Regions from separate parts of the Homo sapiens genome. Here region 2 is linked to region 1. Evidence: promoter capture Hi-C in 16 types of primary human blood cells and fetal thymus (Javierre and others, 2016). All regions are on one chromosome and are shown on one strand. The core of a region is centred on a gene start or on the middle of the fragment in contact, and the rest is flanking DNA. Distances in the headings are between cores, read along the strand shown. Region 1 holds the start of MTCL1 (microtubule crosslinking factor 1). Region 2 overlaps MTCL1 (microtubule crosslinking factor 1).

The links. Contacts are between HindIII fragments. The CHiCAGO score rates a contact against its expected background, and 5 or more counts as called.
Region 2: a contact is called between a fragment that was not itself captured here and the fragment with the promoter of MTCL1 in region 1, in 1 of 17 cell types (endothelial precursors). The highest score is 5.2, in endothelial precursors.

Annotation. Positions count from the first base shown.
Region 1 is chr18:8,700,466-8,707,226 of GRCh38, forward strand. MTCL1 (microtubule crosslinking factor 1) reads left to right here and starts at 5,091. Exons shown (of 15, transcript NM_001395333.1): 1 at 5,091-6,248. The coding sequence starts at 5,196. It overlaps GACAT2 (gastric cancer associated transcript 2), which reads right to left. Exons shown (of 2, transcript NR_120598.1): 1 at 6,605-6,761. RefSeq lists silencers at 4,436-4,875, 5,256-5,315. The HindIII fragment of the contact is 5,801 bases long and covers 2,707-6,761 here.
Region 2 is chr18:8,802,960-8,809,923 of GRCh38, forward strand. It overlaps MTCL1 (microtubule crosslinking factor 1), which reads left to right. Exons shown (of 15, transcript NM_001395333.1): 10 at 3,934-4,101. Among named protein-coding and RNA genes, the nearest start is that of GACAT2, 99 kb to the left of the region's middle. The HindIII fragment of the contact is 1,763 bases long and covers 4,360-6,122 here.

The DNA.
Region 1 (6,761 bases), core at 3,841-6,340:
TGGCCAACATGGCGAAACCCTGTCTCTACTGAAAATACAAAAAATTAGCTGGGCGTGGTGGCGGATACCTGTAATCTCAGCTACTCAGGAGGCTGAGGCAGAAGAGTCGCTTGAGTCCAGGAGGCGGAGGTTGCAGTGAGCCAAGATCGTTCCACTGCACTTTAGCCTGGGCAACAGAACAAGATTCCACCTCAAAATAATAATAATAATAATAATAATAATAATAATAATAATAATACAGCTTTCTGGGCTCATATCTCTTAAATCAGATCCCTGGGGATGTGGCCAGATAATTTGCATTTTTAACAGTCTCACCAGGAGATTTTAATGACCTCAAGGTTTAAGAGCCTCTTAAGTTATTGTCATTGTCACCACCAATGCCATGCACAGCTGCCAATCTGGACATGAAGCCTTTTTCAGGTCCCATGTGGCATTTTGGCAATCACCCTTGCAAAGAGAGCTGGGAGGTCCCCACAGACCCCAGTGTTGGATGCAGACTCCAGCTTCAACCTTGGCGGGTGGTGGGGAGGCGGGGGGATCAGGCATTATTAGGTTGTCTCTTTTTAAGGTTAACTTTCTTGCAGTGCCCAAAAAGCCACTCACTCTGAAAAATTCCCTCTTCTTTCCATTCTTTTCAAAGAGTATGATTTCATGATTTCTCATGACTTCAACCAGGAATGCTTTCATATTTTAAATGTGCCTTTCTGTTAAAATAAGGGGAAAAACTGGAAGATACACATATGCCTGGGTTTGGACAATGTATTAAAGGTATAGAAATTCTGCATATAATTCTGCCTGGGAGTATAGAGTGAAGTATAGTCCTGAGTAAGTCACATTTTTTTTTTTGTCTATGAGTCAAACCAAGTAAAAAAAGAATTCATTTCTCTTTATATAACTGTATAGACACAGAATAGATTTCTAACTCTCTGAGTGAGAGTTTGGAATCTGAGTGAAAAATCTGGTTTGCTCATATTTTAAGAGTTTTGAAGATTATTTCACTGGTGTTAAATAATGATGATGATTCTGAAGATTATTTCACTGGTGTTAAATGATGATGATGACTTGATAACAATACCTTACCCAAGGCCACACAGACAGCAAATGACTTGGGCAGGATTTGAACCCAGATTTACCTGGTGTCAAAGCCTCAGGTCTTGTCACCATACCACACCGTTCTTGGACAAAGAGGTTGTGAACACAGCCACACAAACATTACTCATCACACCACTGCTGCACGCAGCTCCCTAGGACAGTATTTGGGCCTCTGCAGAGGAATGAGACGATGGGGCCCTGGGCCTTGTGCCAGCATTTACAATCCAGGGTTGCAATGCAGGGAATCAGCCACAGTGAAGCAACCCGGAGATCTGCAAGCACAGGAAGGCACCACCACCCTTGATACGAGGCAGTGGAGGACGAAAAGCTACCAGGAGGAGTAGTCCATCCAGTGATGGCTGGAACCTCAGAAATCCACTCCTCACAGAGACCCAGCCACTGCCAGAGAAGCCGCCTGCAGCAGAGAGAGTAAGAAATAACCTGGTTTCTTCCTTCTGGGTCCACTCCCATCTCCTGACGGCACCTCCACTGGCCAAACCCAATCAGCAAACCCAGCGGCCTGGAAACCCACACTTCCACTCACATCAGAGTAGCAGAGGGGCAAGACTGGATCTGAGGGCACGCAGATGAAAACAGGCACGCCCATGCTGGGTTTTGTTATTTCACAGAATAAGCACTCTATGGTTCCCTTAAATAGTAAATCCTCTATTACCTTTAGATTAATTTGATTTAACAGAAAAAGAATTTAAAATCAAGTATTTCCTTTCTTTGCTCCCTCCTTCCCTTCCTCCCTTCCCTTCCCTTCTTTCCCTCCCTCCCTCCCTGCCTCCTTCCCTCCCTTCCTTCCTTCCCATTTTTTTGAGACAGGGTTTCACTCCCATCACCCAGGCTGGAGTGCAGTGGCATGATCATGGCTCACTGCAACCTCCCCTCCTGGGCTTGAGGGAGCCTCCTGCCTCAGCCTCTCAAGTAGCTGGAACTACAGGTGTATGCCACCATGCCCAGCTTATTTTTGTATTTTTGTGTTTTTTTGGTAGAGACAGGATTTTGCCATGTTGCCCAGGCTGATCTCCAACTCCTGAGCTCAAGCTATCTGCCCACCTTGGCCTCCCAAAATGCTGGGATTACAGGCGTGAGCCACCACGCCTGGACCACTTTTTCTTTTTCTTTTCTTTTCTTTTTTTTTTTGAGTGACTTTAAAAAACATCTATTATGCAATCAGATATCTCTTTATACCTGTAACTCACTGAATACTGGAAAACAAAGAAGGCATTATTGGCTGGGCTGGGTGGTGCATGCCTGTAGTCCCAGCTACTTGGGAGGCTGAGGTGGGAAGATGGCTTAAGCCCAGGAAGTTTGACTTCAGTCTGGGCAACATAGCAAGACCCCATCTCTTAAAAAAAAAAAGGAAGAAAAAAGAAAAAAAAAGAGAAAGCATTGATTGAATACTTCCTTACAAAGGGCTAGTAGTCTCATTTGCCAGGCTAATAATAAGTAGTAAGGAGGATGAATTTTATCTGACTTATTACCTGAAAGAAAGAGAAGCTGGCTGCAAATCCTATAGTCATCAAGCTACTGTCTTTAGAAGACTAGCGTATTGAAACTTTTTTGGGGGGCCCTTTCTTTGAGTGTATATGGTATGAGAAGCTGGCAAGCTTGTGCTGAGAGTCCTGGCCATAATTCTTCGGAAATGTGAGGGTGTGGGAGGCTTCAGAGCCTCTGGAGGAAGTTCTAGGCAGAGGTCAGTTGTGCTCTGGCCCGACCGCGGGCCCCCTCCCACGGAAGGGCAGAGCTAGAGGGCCCTCTGGGGACAGCAGGCCCGGCGCGAGCGGTGGCCAACACCTCTCAAGCCTTTCGAGGTGTGCCGTCATCCACGCCCACCGTGGAGCCAACAGTGTCCTTCTCCCAACGCTGGAGAAACGGCTAGGGCATTAGCCTCAAAGGAGATTAAGGAATTGGATTTCGTAGAGATTGGATTTCGTGCGTGCTGTCTCCCATTCAGAGGCATTCCCAGAAAAACGACTCACAAAGACCACAACAGCAGCAGAGCAGGCGAGGTCTCAGTGCCCCCAGAGCTCAGCCAGGGCGAGGCAGGACGACTTCGGGGCAGGGCTCTCCTGACGTAGGGATTACAACAAAAGGGTTCATCCTGCATTTTTTGAAGGAGATGGCTAAGTAGGGTAAATCTGTGGTTAAGATCACAGACTTTGGAGTCGATTTTTTCCTCCTATTTTTGCGAGTCGGCCCCCTCTTCTCTGTCCCTGCTCCCAAGGCCCCCTCACCGCGCATACTGCCACAGCCGCTCGCAGCTCCCGTGGCCCACCTCCCTCTCCTCCAGGTTGCTGCCCCCGGGGTCTTTTTGAGCACATCAGATCATCTTGCTCAGAATACCCCGTGGCTACCGCCTCTAGGATAATGCCCAACGGCCTTGGTAGGATATTTGGTGCCACACACCCTCCAGTCTCCCCTCTAATCCCTAACCTACCTGCCTCCCCGCCCAGGGGCCCTGCTCTCTGCAGGCTCTACTGTGTCCTGGGCCCTCAGCTGAGAGACCAACCCGTCCTTCCAGGAAAATGCGAGCCTCACCAGGCAGGGTTATGCTCCCGCCCTCCTCCTTGTAATTATTACCTGACCCTCTGCCTCCTGCAACGCCAGGGCTGGAGGACAGGCTGGCCCCTATTCCTATGGGCACTGGCCAACATCCAACGCCTGGGACATAAACTGCACCCAATGGTATGTGAACTGTACTTTACAGTTTGCACGGTGTGTTCTGGTATTTGCTAAATCTTCACACATGCTCAGGTGGCAGTACGTTTTAATGATACAGGCGAGGGAACTGGGGCTCAGAAAGGTCTAGTGCCTTGCGCATGGGAGACTCAAGTGGTAGAACCGGTGGCCGGGCTCCGGGCTCTGAGCGGAAAGCCTGCAGGACTCGGAATCCTGAAGACCTGGGTTTAAACCCGCTCAGCTAGGGACTGGGTGAGGCATCGCAGGCAAGTGACTTCACCTCCCAGCGCCGGTGCCCTAGTCTTCACCGAAGACAGCAATTCCAATCTGGGACTGTGGTGAGGCTTAAATAAAACACTGCTCAGTAAGTGGCCAGCAGGCCTGGCTCGCAGCCGGAACTATAAATGTGAGTTCCCTTTCTGACCCCCAGGTTTGGCGAGGGCTCCTCCTGTTTGGGCAGCAGCTCCTCCTGAGCTCCCGAGGCCACGGGGGTGCCAACTGTGGAGCGCCCGCCGTGCCGTTTAGACGCGAGAGCTGCGTCGGGTACCAGCGATCCTTAAAGGAGCTCGGGGACCAGGGGCACAGCTTGGAGAGGACAGCGAGGGAGGTGACTGGCCTCGGGGAGGCGGGCGGTGGATGGAGAGGCATGAGAGGGGTGTTGTCAGCCGCGGCACACGCCTTCCCCAAGTGGCCGGCGCCGCCCCTTGCCACCACTTCACCTCCGCCTCTTCCCTTCCTCCCTAGCTCCTGGCAGCGTCTCTAGGGCCTCAAAAAGCAAGGAGGGTCCCCGGGCAGCGAGGCCCCATGGATCCAGCCTGCGCCTGCTCCCAAGGGCGCGCAGGTCCCGCCCCTGCCGGGCGCCCGCCCCCCGGGGAGCGCAAGCCCCCGCCCCTTCCCTCGCCCCTCCCCTGCACGGCGCCGGCTGGCTGGAGGCGGGGCATGCGCACGGGCCTGGGCGAGGGCGCTGGGCGGCGGGGAGGTGGGGCGCGCGCGTGCGGCTTCTCTCAGCCGGGAGCGGCGGGGGCGGGCACGGGCAGCAGCGGGCCGGCGGTGGGCGGGGAGCGGGACGCGGGAGCCGGGCGCGCGCCGCCAGCGCCGCCGCGGCACCGGTGACCGCGAGCCCGGAGCGCGAGGTCCGGGGATGCGAGCGGCCGGGAGCCGCCGCGCTGCTGAGCCGGGAGAACTCGATCCGCGGTGACCTCAGCGAGGGGCGAGCGCGGCGGCGGCGAGCCCCGCGGGAATCCTCGGGGCCGGGGTGCGGGGGGCGGGGACGGCGGGAGCGCGGGGCGCAGCCCGGGCGGGGCTGGGACAGTGATGAGAGAGCGCGCGGGGAGGCTGCACGCCGCCGCCGCCGCCGCCGCCGCCGTCGTCGTCCGGAGCATCTGCTGCCTGAGCTGCTGCCGGCGGACCCGGCCATGGAGACACTGAACGGCCCCGCGGGCGGAGGTGCCCCGGACGCGAAGCTGCAGCCGCCCGGCCAGCACCACCGCCACCACCACCTCCACCCGGTGGCCGAAAGGCGGCGGCTGCACCGTGCGCCCTCGCCCGCCAGACCCTTCCTCAAGGACCTGCACGCCCGGCCCGCCGCGCCCGGCCCGGCCGTCCCCTCCTCGGGCCGAGCCCCGGCTCCCGCCGCCCCGCGCTCGCCCAACCTCGCGGGCAAAGCGCCGCCCTCGCCGGGGTCCCTGGCCGCGCCCGGCCGCCTCTCTCGGCGCAGTGGCGGCGTCCCGGGCGCGAAGGACAAGCCCCCGCCGGGCGCCGGGGCCAGAGCGGCGGGCGGTGCCAAGGCTGCCCTGGGAAGCAGGAGGGCGGCGCGCGTGGCGCCCGCGGAGCCGCTGTCCCGGGCTGGGAAGCCTCCCGGAGCCGAGCCGCCGTCTGCCGCTGCCAAGGGCCGCAAAGCCAAGCGCGGCTCCCGGGCGCCACCCGCCCGCACCGTCGGCCCCCCGACCCCGGCCGCCCGGATCCCTGCCGTGACCCTCGCGGTGACCTCGGTGGCCGGGTCCCCGGCCCGCTGCTCGCGCATCAGCCACACGGACAGCAGCTCCGACCTCTCTGACTGCCCCTCCGAACCCCTGTCCGACGAGCAGCGCCTGCTCCCTGCCGCCAGCAGCGACGCCGAATCCGGCACGGGCTCCAGCGACCGTGAACCCCCACGAGGAGCGCCGACGCCGAGCCCCGCAGCCCGAGGAGCGCCGCCGGGCAGCCCCGAGCCCCCAGCGCTCCTCGCCGCGCCCCTCGCCGCGGGCGCCTGTCCCGGGGGCCGGAGCATCCCGAGCGGGGTTTCGGGGGGTTTCGCGGGGCCCGGCGTGGCGGAGGATGTCCGGGGGCGCTCGCCACCGGAGCGACCAGTCCCCGGGACCCCCAAGGAGCCCAGCCTGGGCGAGCAGTCTCGGCTCGTGCCAGCGGCGGAGGAAGAAGAGCTGCTGCGGGAGATGGAGGAGCTGCGCTCGGAGAACGACTATCTCAAGGTGAGCCGCGCCTCGGCCGCAGGTGTCCCGGGGCGCCCCCGGAGGGCCTGGCTGCGGCGGGGACCCGCCAACCCCTCCTTCCCGGGCCTGTCCAGCGCCTTCTCCCTCCTGCTCTCCACGGTCCTACCCCCGCATTGTCAGGCATTGGCAACTTAAGCCCAAACTTCTGGAAGGAGAAGCAAGACCTGTGGGACCCCGCCAGTTCGCAACCCACTTCTCTTTTCTCGCGTCTAGAACTCTTGCGTCTCTTCGCTGATACTTTTACTTTTGTTGACCTGTTGGGGCAGAGGAGGCTGTAATCGTTTTGGGGACATCAGCGGACGCCCCCATCCCCGCTCAGAACGTGCCAGCCTCACCTGTAGGAACAGGTGATCCTTCGCCAGGGAGCTCTAGCCGGGCCACGTGCGGGCGTGGCGGTTCAGGATAATGCCACTGGAGGGCCCCCGGCTACGGACCCGCTTGCCCCTTCTCCTGCAATTACGGAAAGAGCTGGGGGCTCTCAGGGTCTCCTGG
Region 2 (6,964 bases), core at 3,991-6,490, 100 kb after region 1:
TCTTAATTTGATTCTTGACTTGATTTGGGTCATCTTTTTACCCAAAAGGTAACCCAGCAAGGGGTACCACCAGGGGAAGAAAATAAGAGCAGTTAACTTTTAGGTATTCTCTCAGGATGACTCACTATCATTAATTTCCCTTGATAGGGGAAATTGAATTAGCTTCATGGGGATTAGATGGCTTCTGCAAGGTAAAGTTTAAAAAAAAAAAAAAGAAGAAGAAAAAGAAAAAGGCTTGGCAGGGTATAATGTCAGAATTCGAATATTCCTGGCTCGGTTTGTTGGCTTTGGAACGCGACAACCTGGACTGCAGTCCAGGATCTCACTTCCTTGACAGTGGGACCTTGGCCCTCAGCCACTCCAAGCCATAGTTCCTCCTCTGTAAAATGGGGAACATAGTATATGCACTCAAAATTGATGTGACATATATATAAGGTCATGTTGGCAAATAATTTAGTACATCCCCTGGCCATAGGAAGCACCTATAATATTAGTAGTTATCATTACTATTTTTTTGCCTGTGTGCGAAAGTCATTAGGAAAATCATGCCTATCTACGGCCCATTCTGGGTCTTCAGAAATGTTGACACAGACATCCACTTTTGCCGTTGTGTGCTAATGGCAGGAGCTTGCCTGGCTTCCTGCTGTGCCACATGCTGCTCTTGAGGAATGATGATAACAGGTACCAATAGCATTGAGCTGGGCTCTCTTGCTCCCTTTGGCCACCTTCACCCCAAAGCAATTCTGGAGCTCATTCCGCAATGATTAATATTATCCTGGTTGAATAGAGCACTGTTTTGATTACTCTGATGCAAATATGCATAAATCATTAAGGCTTAAATTTTATTGAATTCAGTATCTGTTAAAGCCAAAAAGTACTTGCTTCCAGAGAAACCAAGTTTCCAATCTGCAAGAGGACTGTACAGTTCTGATTCTAATGTCATGTGGTGTATGGGCCAAGAACAGCATAGGCTGATACCATATGTAACTTGGCATTCATAGAAAACCATCGATTACATATAAGAATGTATCATATGGTTTTCTGCTTTCTCTTCAGTGAAAATTAAATGACTACTCCAAAATCTGGATCAAAATTATTATAATTATTTTCTGCTTGAAATACTCTTGACTCAAAAAGCAGTGATTTTTAATTTAAAATCTAAAGATGAAACTCCCAAACAAATCTACCACAAAATGTATGTGATTATTCAGCAAATTCTATATGAAGATGTATATTTCTGAAAAGATTGTTGTGACACCTCTTGTCACTCAACTGTACTTATATAATTTTTAGATTTTTTTTTTTTTTTTTTTGGAAACAAGGTCTTGCTCTGTCACCTAGACTGGAGGGCAGTGGTGTGATCTTAGCTCACTGTAACCTTGAACTCCTGGGTTCAAGCGATCCTCCCATCTCAGCCTCCTGAGTAGTTGGGACTACAGGCAAGAGCCACAACGCTAATTTTTAGGTACTTTTTGACGTGGAATTTTAAAAACTGTTCTGTGTTTGTTACAGCTTCACATATATGGTGAGCATGTCTTTGAGTATAGTGGTAATTTATTTCTATTCAGATGGTTGGTAAGAATGTATAAGACTCATAGATGGTTCCCTATCTGCCGAGTTCTTCAAATGTTAACTGACTTGTACTCTTAATGCCTTTTGTCCCAGAGTTATTAAAGTAAAAATTGTTCCCTGTGAGAAAAAGAGCAATAAATATGAACAAACTGGCCTTTCTACTCCATCAAAAGTCCATTGTAGCTGGGCACGGTGGCTCATGCCTACAATCCCATTTTCTGAGGCTGAGGCAGGTGGATCAGTTGAGGCCAGAGTTTGAGACCAGCCTGAGCAACATGATGAAACCTTGTTTCTACAAAAAATACAAAAATTAGCTGGGCATGGCGGCACACGCCTGTAGTCCCAGCTACTTGGGAGTGTGAGGTGGGAGGACTGCTTGAGCCCAGGAGGTTGAGGCTGCAGTGAGCCGTGATCCACTGCATTCTAGCCTGGGTGACAGAGCGAGACCTTGCCTCAAAAAAAAAAAAAAAAAAAGTCCACTTAATTAAATGCTGGGGACAACTATGGAGATCTCTATAATAAATCTGCTCATATTAAAGAATTTCTCTTTTTAATACAACTTTATTTTTGAATATATATATATATATAGAATTTTAGGTTCAGGGGGTACATGTGCAGGTTTATTATATGGTATATTGCATGTTGCTGAGGTGTGGGCTTCTAATGACCCTATCACCTAAGTAGTGAACATAGTACCCAATAGGTAATTTTTCAACCCTTGCCCCTCTCCTCGCAACCCCTTTTGGAATACCCAGTGTCTGTTGTTCCCATCTCTGTCCGAGTATACCCAATGTTTGGCTCCCACATATAAGTGAGAACATGCGGTATTTGGTTTTCTGTTCCTGCATTAACTTGCTTAGGATAATGGCCTCCAGCTGCAACCATGTTGCTGCAGAAGCCATGATTTCATTCTTTTTTGTGGCTGCACAATTTTATGTAAATACAAACATCCATCCAAAGTATCTTAAATTCCTCCCATATATACTTAACCATTTTTGTGTATGTTTAGTGGATCAACTAGATGGATTTAGAAGCATGACTGTGGAGTGAAGGCCAGTGTGTGTGTAGAACCTGAAGGAGGGGTCCCAGTGTACTTGCTGAACCAGGGAGGAGAGGTTTATCAAGTTTGGGGGATGAGGAATTCTGAGAGGGTGGGGCTCTGTTTTTCCATAGTAGAGCTTATCTATGTCCAGTGGGACTTAGAGAGCTTTTATAACTCTTGCTTCATACATGCACCAAAAAAGAATGCCCTGAGACCGCCCTGAGAGCTTGTGATGTGCTTTCCGTGCTGGTTGGAAGAGATGGGCTCACGAGGCTTTTATTATCAAGGTACCATAATTGATTCAGCGTGTTTCATTCATTTGGCCAAACCCTTCTGATATAATGCCCTTGCTGAAATGTACTAAGACAGAAATCATGGCTTTGAAATTTGACTTCAAAGGGCTGGGCAGGTTTCAGAACATATAAACCATTTTAAGTTAGATATAAGCAGATTAGTAATAAAAATCCACTCTTCATTTACCAGACACATTTGCATGCTTAACATGAGCCAAGGATTGTGCCAAATACTGGAAATGTGAGGGTGGGTCTGGCTTGTCCTTTCCAAGAGGCAGAAAAGTGGGGGCTGATAGTTCTATCTCAAGGGACCACAATAAAGCCTTCCTGAACAGGTTATGCATTTCACCTTTGGCTTTAATTATTAAACATCAAAATGTTTAATAATTAAACCCACCCACACACAGTGGCCATGTGTGTCATATCTGTGACCTTTTAGTAACCACCAATCGGAGTCTGATTACCCTATGTGCATAGGAGTCCTCGGTCTTTATTAATTCTCCTCTAGTACAACATCTGGCACTAGAATGGCAGCATATATGTAGGTGAGTGTGTAGGTCTTGTCATATCTGCACCCTCATGACAGTCTTGTCAGCCCAACTCAGTGTTCTGGACATCTAAAGTCACACAGTGACTGGCAGCCCTGGCTTTGGGGTTCCCTGTGGCCTCCTGCAGTTTCCTTGCTCCTGCTCCTCAGGGCCCACAGCACCTCTGTGGCAGGTTCCCACAGTGCCAGCCCAGGTTCCGGCGTCTGAACACAGCTGCCAGGTCACCAGGGCAGCCTTCCTTCTACCCTCCTCCTGATCAAACAGGCCCTCAGTCTCAGGCCCAGGAGACCGATGGCCAGCAACAGGGACCCTTTCTTTGCTCCCCGGCTAACTGCAGACTCCCCACCCACCCTGCACCCACTGCCAACAACACCTGGGAAACAGCCCCCACACTACCTTGATAGCCAGATCCTCTCCTCTTCTGACCTAAAAAATACGCTTAAAGGAGGTGGTGGAGCCTGACTCAGTGTTCCCGCAGGTGGTGGAAAACCAGCAGCTGTTCAGCGCCTTCAAGGCCTTGCTGGAGGACTTCCGTGCGGAGCTGCGGGAGGATGAGCGTGCCCGACTACGGCTGCAGCAGCAATATGCCAGCGACAAGGCGGCCTGGGACGTGGAGTGGGCCGTGCTCAAGTGCCGTCTGGAACAGGTACCACCCTCCCAGGTCTCCCTCGATCCTGACTGTGTGTCTCTGCTGTCCAGGATATGTGGCGGGGGAGCGGGCACAGAGAGATTCAGAACCATGGGCTTCTTGTCCAGGAAAAAAAGAGAGGAGTGGCTGCTTGTGTCTCTTCTTAAAGTGCAGAGTCCCCATTTTCCCTGATGTCCCCTCTCCCAAGTATGCAGTACGGCCCCCACCAAGCAGCATTTTCAGAGCAGCATGTATTCTCCCATTCTGCATTAAACAAGCTTGTATTTAGCTGCATCAGAGGACGGCCAGGCTGAAGCTGTCATCACACTGAGCTGACATAACTCTAGACAGGAGCAAAGCAAAAGCAGACTGTGGTTTAGTTGTCTTTGAAAAAGGTAAATGCATGCTTTCATTGAGATTTTTCAAAATATCAAAAGAACTTGGAGACCTCCCACTGCATGCCCAAGAATTCTAATACATTTCAGTCTCCTTATTTATATCAAAGGAAACTGAGGCCCAGAAGAAACAGCTCAGCTCAGATCACAGAGCCATGTAGTGCTAGGGCAGGAAGAGAGCCCGGGTTTCCTGCCTCCACCTCACACCACAGAGGGAAGCCCCCTCTGAAGTCTTACACCACAGCCATAGGAGTTAAGATCAGACATAACAAGAAACATCCTTTCCTAAGTGTTTCTTCCTTGGAAACCATTGAATGTCATGTGACTTCCTACATGGTATCTGCTGCTGAGAGCGTCTCTCGAGGTTTCTTCCAGCCCCTTGATCATGAGGAGGGAGGGAAGGTCTGTGTATCCTTGGTAATCTATTTCCTAGACTCTATTTTGAGGCAAACCATAAAGTAAGTAAAATTTTGTAGGGATTGGCCTGGTCATGAAAGGAAAAGAATTGCCTGGAAAGGAGACCCCTGTCACATGGTCTTGATAAAAGATGAAAAAGACTTGATGTGTCAAAAAAAAAAAAAAAAAACTCCAGCTCTCCTGGTACCCACAAGTTCCCCTGCATTTCCACCTGGCCACAGCAAGCAGTGATGCTGAGCTGATAGCCCTGGGTGGGGCAGGGACACAGCCTTGCAGGCCTGGGCATCAAGTGAGAGAGCAGCTGGCCTGATTGTGGCTCCTGCCTGCTGCCCGCGGGGGATTTGACCTAGATGCTCTGTTTATCTTAGTCCCCGGCCTGCAGCATCAGCAGCGGAGGAGAAATGACTAAGGACAGTCTCTGATGAGCTGTCTTTAACCCTATTAAAAAAAATATGTTTATAGGGGGAGTTAAGTGTTTCCAAAGCCCGAACTATAGCTAAGGAAGGGAGGTGTAATCTTCGATGCAAGCCAGTTTCAAAACATTTCATCTTTGTTTTATAGGAACGTAGTATCCACCCACAGGTTTGCCACAAATAAACCCTCAGGGAGAGTGTCCCTAAATACCAAAAAATAAAGCTAGAACTTCAAATTCAGAAGCCAGGTGGTAATAGGTAGAGAGTTTATCTTCTGCCCAAATCATTTAGGAAGTTTCTTAAACATTTGCAACCCAGGAAGCAATGAATATGGGATGATGCTAGCTCATTTGTAATAATCCCATATTTACCCTCTTCTGCTTAAATGCAAAACAGTTTAATTCTGCTACAAGTTACCTTCTTTCAGTGGAGCCCACGTTGATGACACTTCCCAAGTCCACGATTCCTTCAGCAGACTCCTAAGTCAGACCTTGCTCTAAATGTTGAACATCCAGCAACAAATCAGATGTTCCTTGAAGGGGTTCTCAGTGCAGTGGGGGGACCTAGACAAGTGCTGTCCTTTATAACAGCGTGGAAAGTGCCCACAGGGCTTTTGCACGTAGGCTGTCAGGGAACAGGAACGTGCAAGGCACATGCCTTGGCTTGAGAATTCAGGGAAGGCTGTGAAAGTGAAAGTCCTGCTGAGAAAAATCTCAAAGGATGGACAAGAACTGGAATGTGGAAAAGGAGAGAAAGGAAGTTTCAGGCAAAAAAAAAAAAGTATCATGAAGAAAGGAGCATGGCTCATTTGAGAAGCTTAGGTATGAGGGGAAAGAATAATTTTAAGGAATTGATACTTTAATCCTGATTTTATCATGAAAGTTTAGATTCCCTTTTTCAAAAGATTATTCTGGCTTCAAGATAGAGAATGGATTAGGAGCCATTAGAATCGAATGGATTAACCTGGGGTTAATGGTCTGTAGACTGAAATCAGGGAATTGCCAAACCAGAATAGGAAAGAGACGCATCTTTATGGTCACTAACTTTCCACTAAAATTTAGCATGTCCTCCGGTTATAAACATAGGCAACAAGCCCAACAGAAATCACGGATCTTTTTGAAAGGAAGTATGGAATGAAAGAATAAAAAGTAATCACACACATCTCTCCATTTCCCGTTAGAATTGTTGTGGATATCCCAGAATTAACATTGAGGAGGAGACTTTAGGCTTCACCAGGCTGCCAGCTGGGTCCACGGTAAAAACGTTGAAGAGCCTTGGGTTGCAGAGATTGGAGGTGAGAGGGGTGACTCTGAAGTAAAGCAGCAGCAGTGGAGAAGGAGTGGAGGGCACACACCTGAAAAAAACGGAGCAAGTAGAGAGTGGCCGGGCCTGGTGGCCGGTTCATGAGACGCCGTGGAGCAACAGGCACCTCGCACGGCTGTCAGGTTTCTAGTACGGGTGCCTGGGCGATGGGCCATCACTGAGACAGGAACGCAGAGAGACAACCAGTTGGGATGGAAAGGGGACAGGTTGGATTTGAGGTGTGTGTCATCACAGGCACTGGGACTTGAAAAGGGCTGGGCTGAAGATGTATATACCTGGGTGTGAATGAGGAGGTGGGAGGCAGGGCCATGGAGGACGCTGCAGGACTGTGCA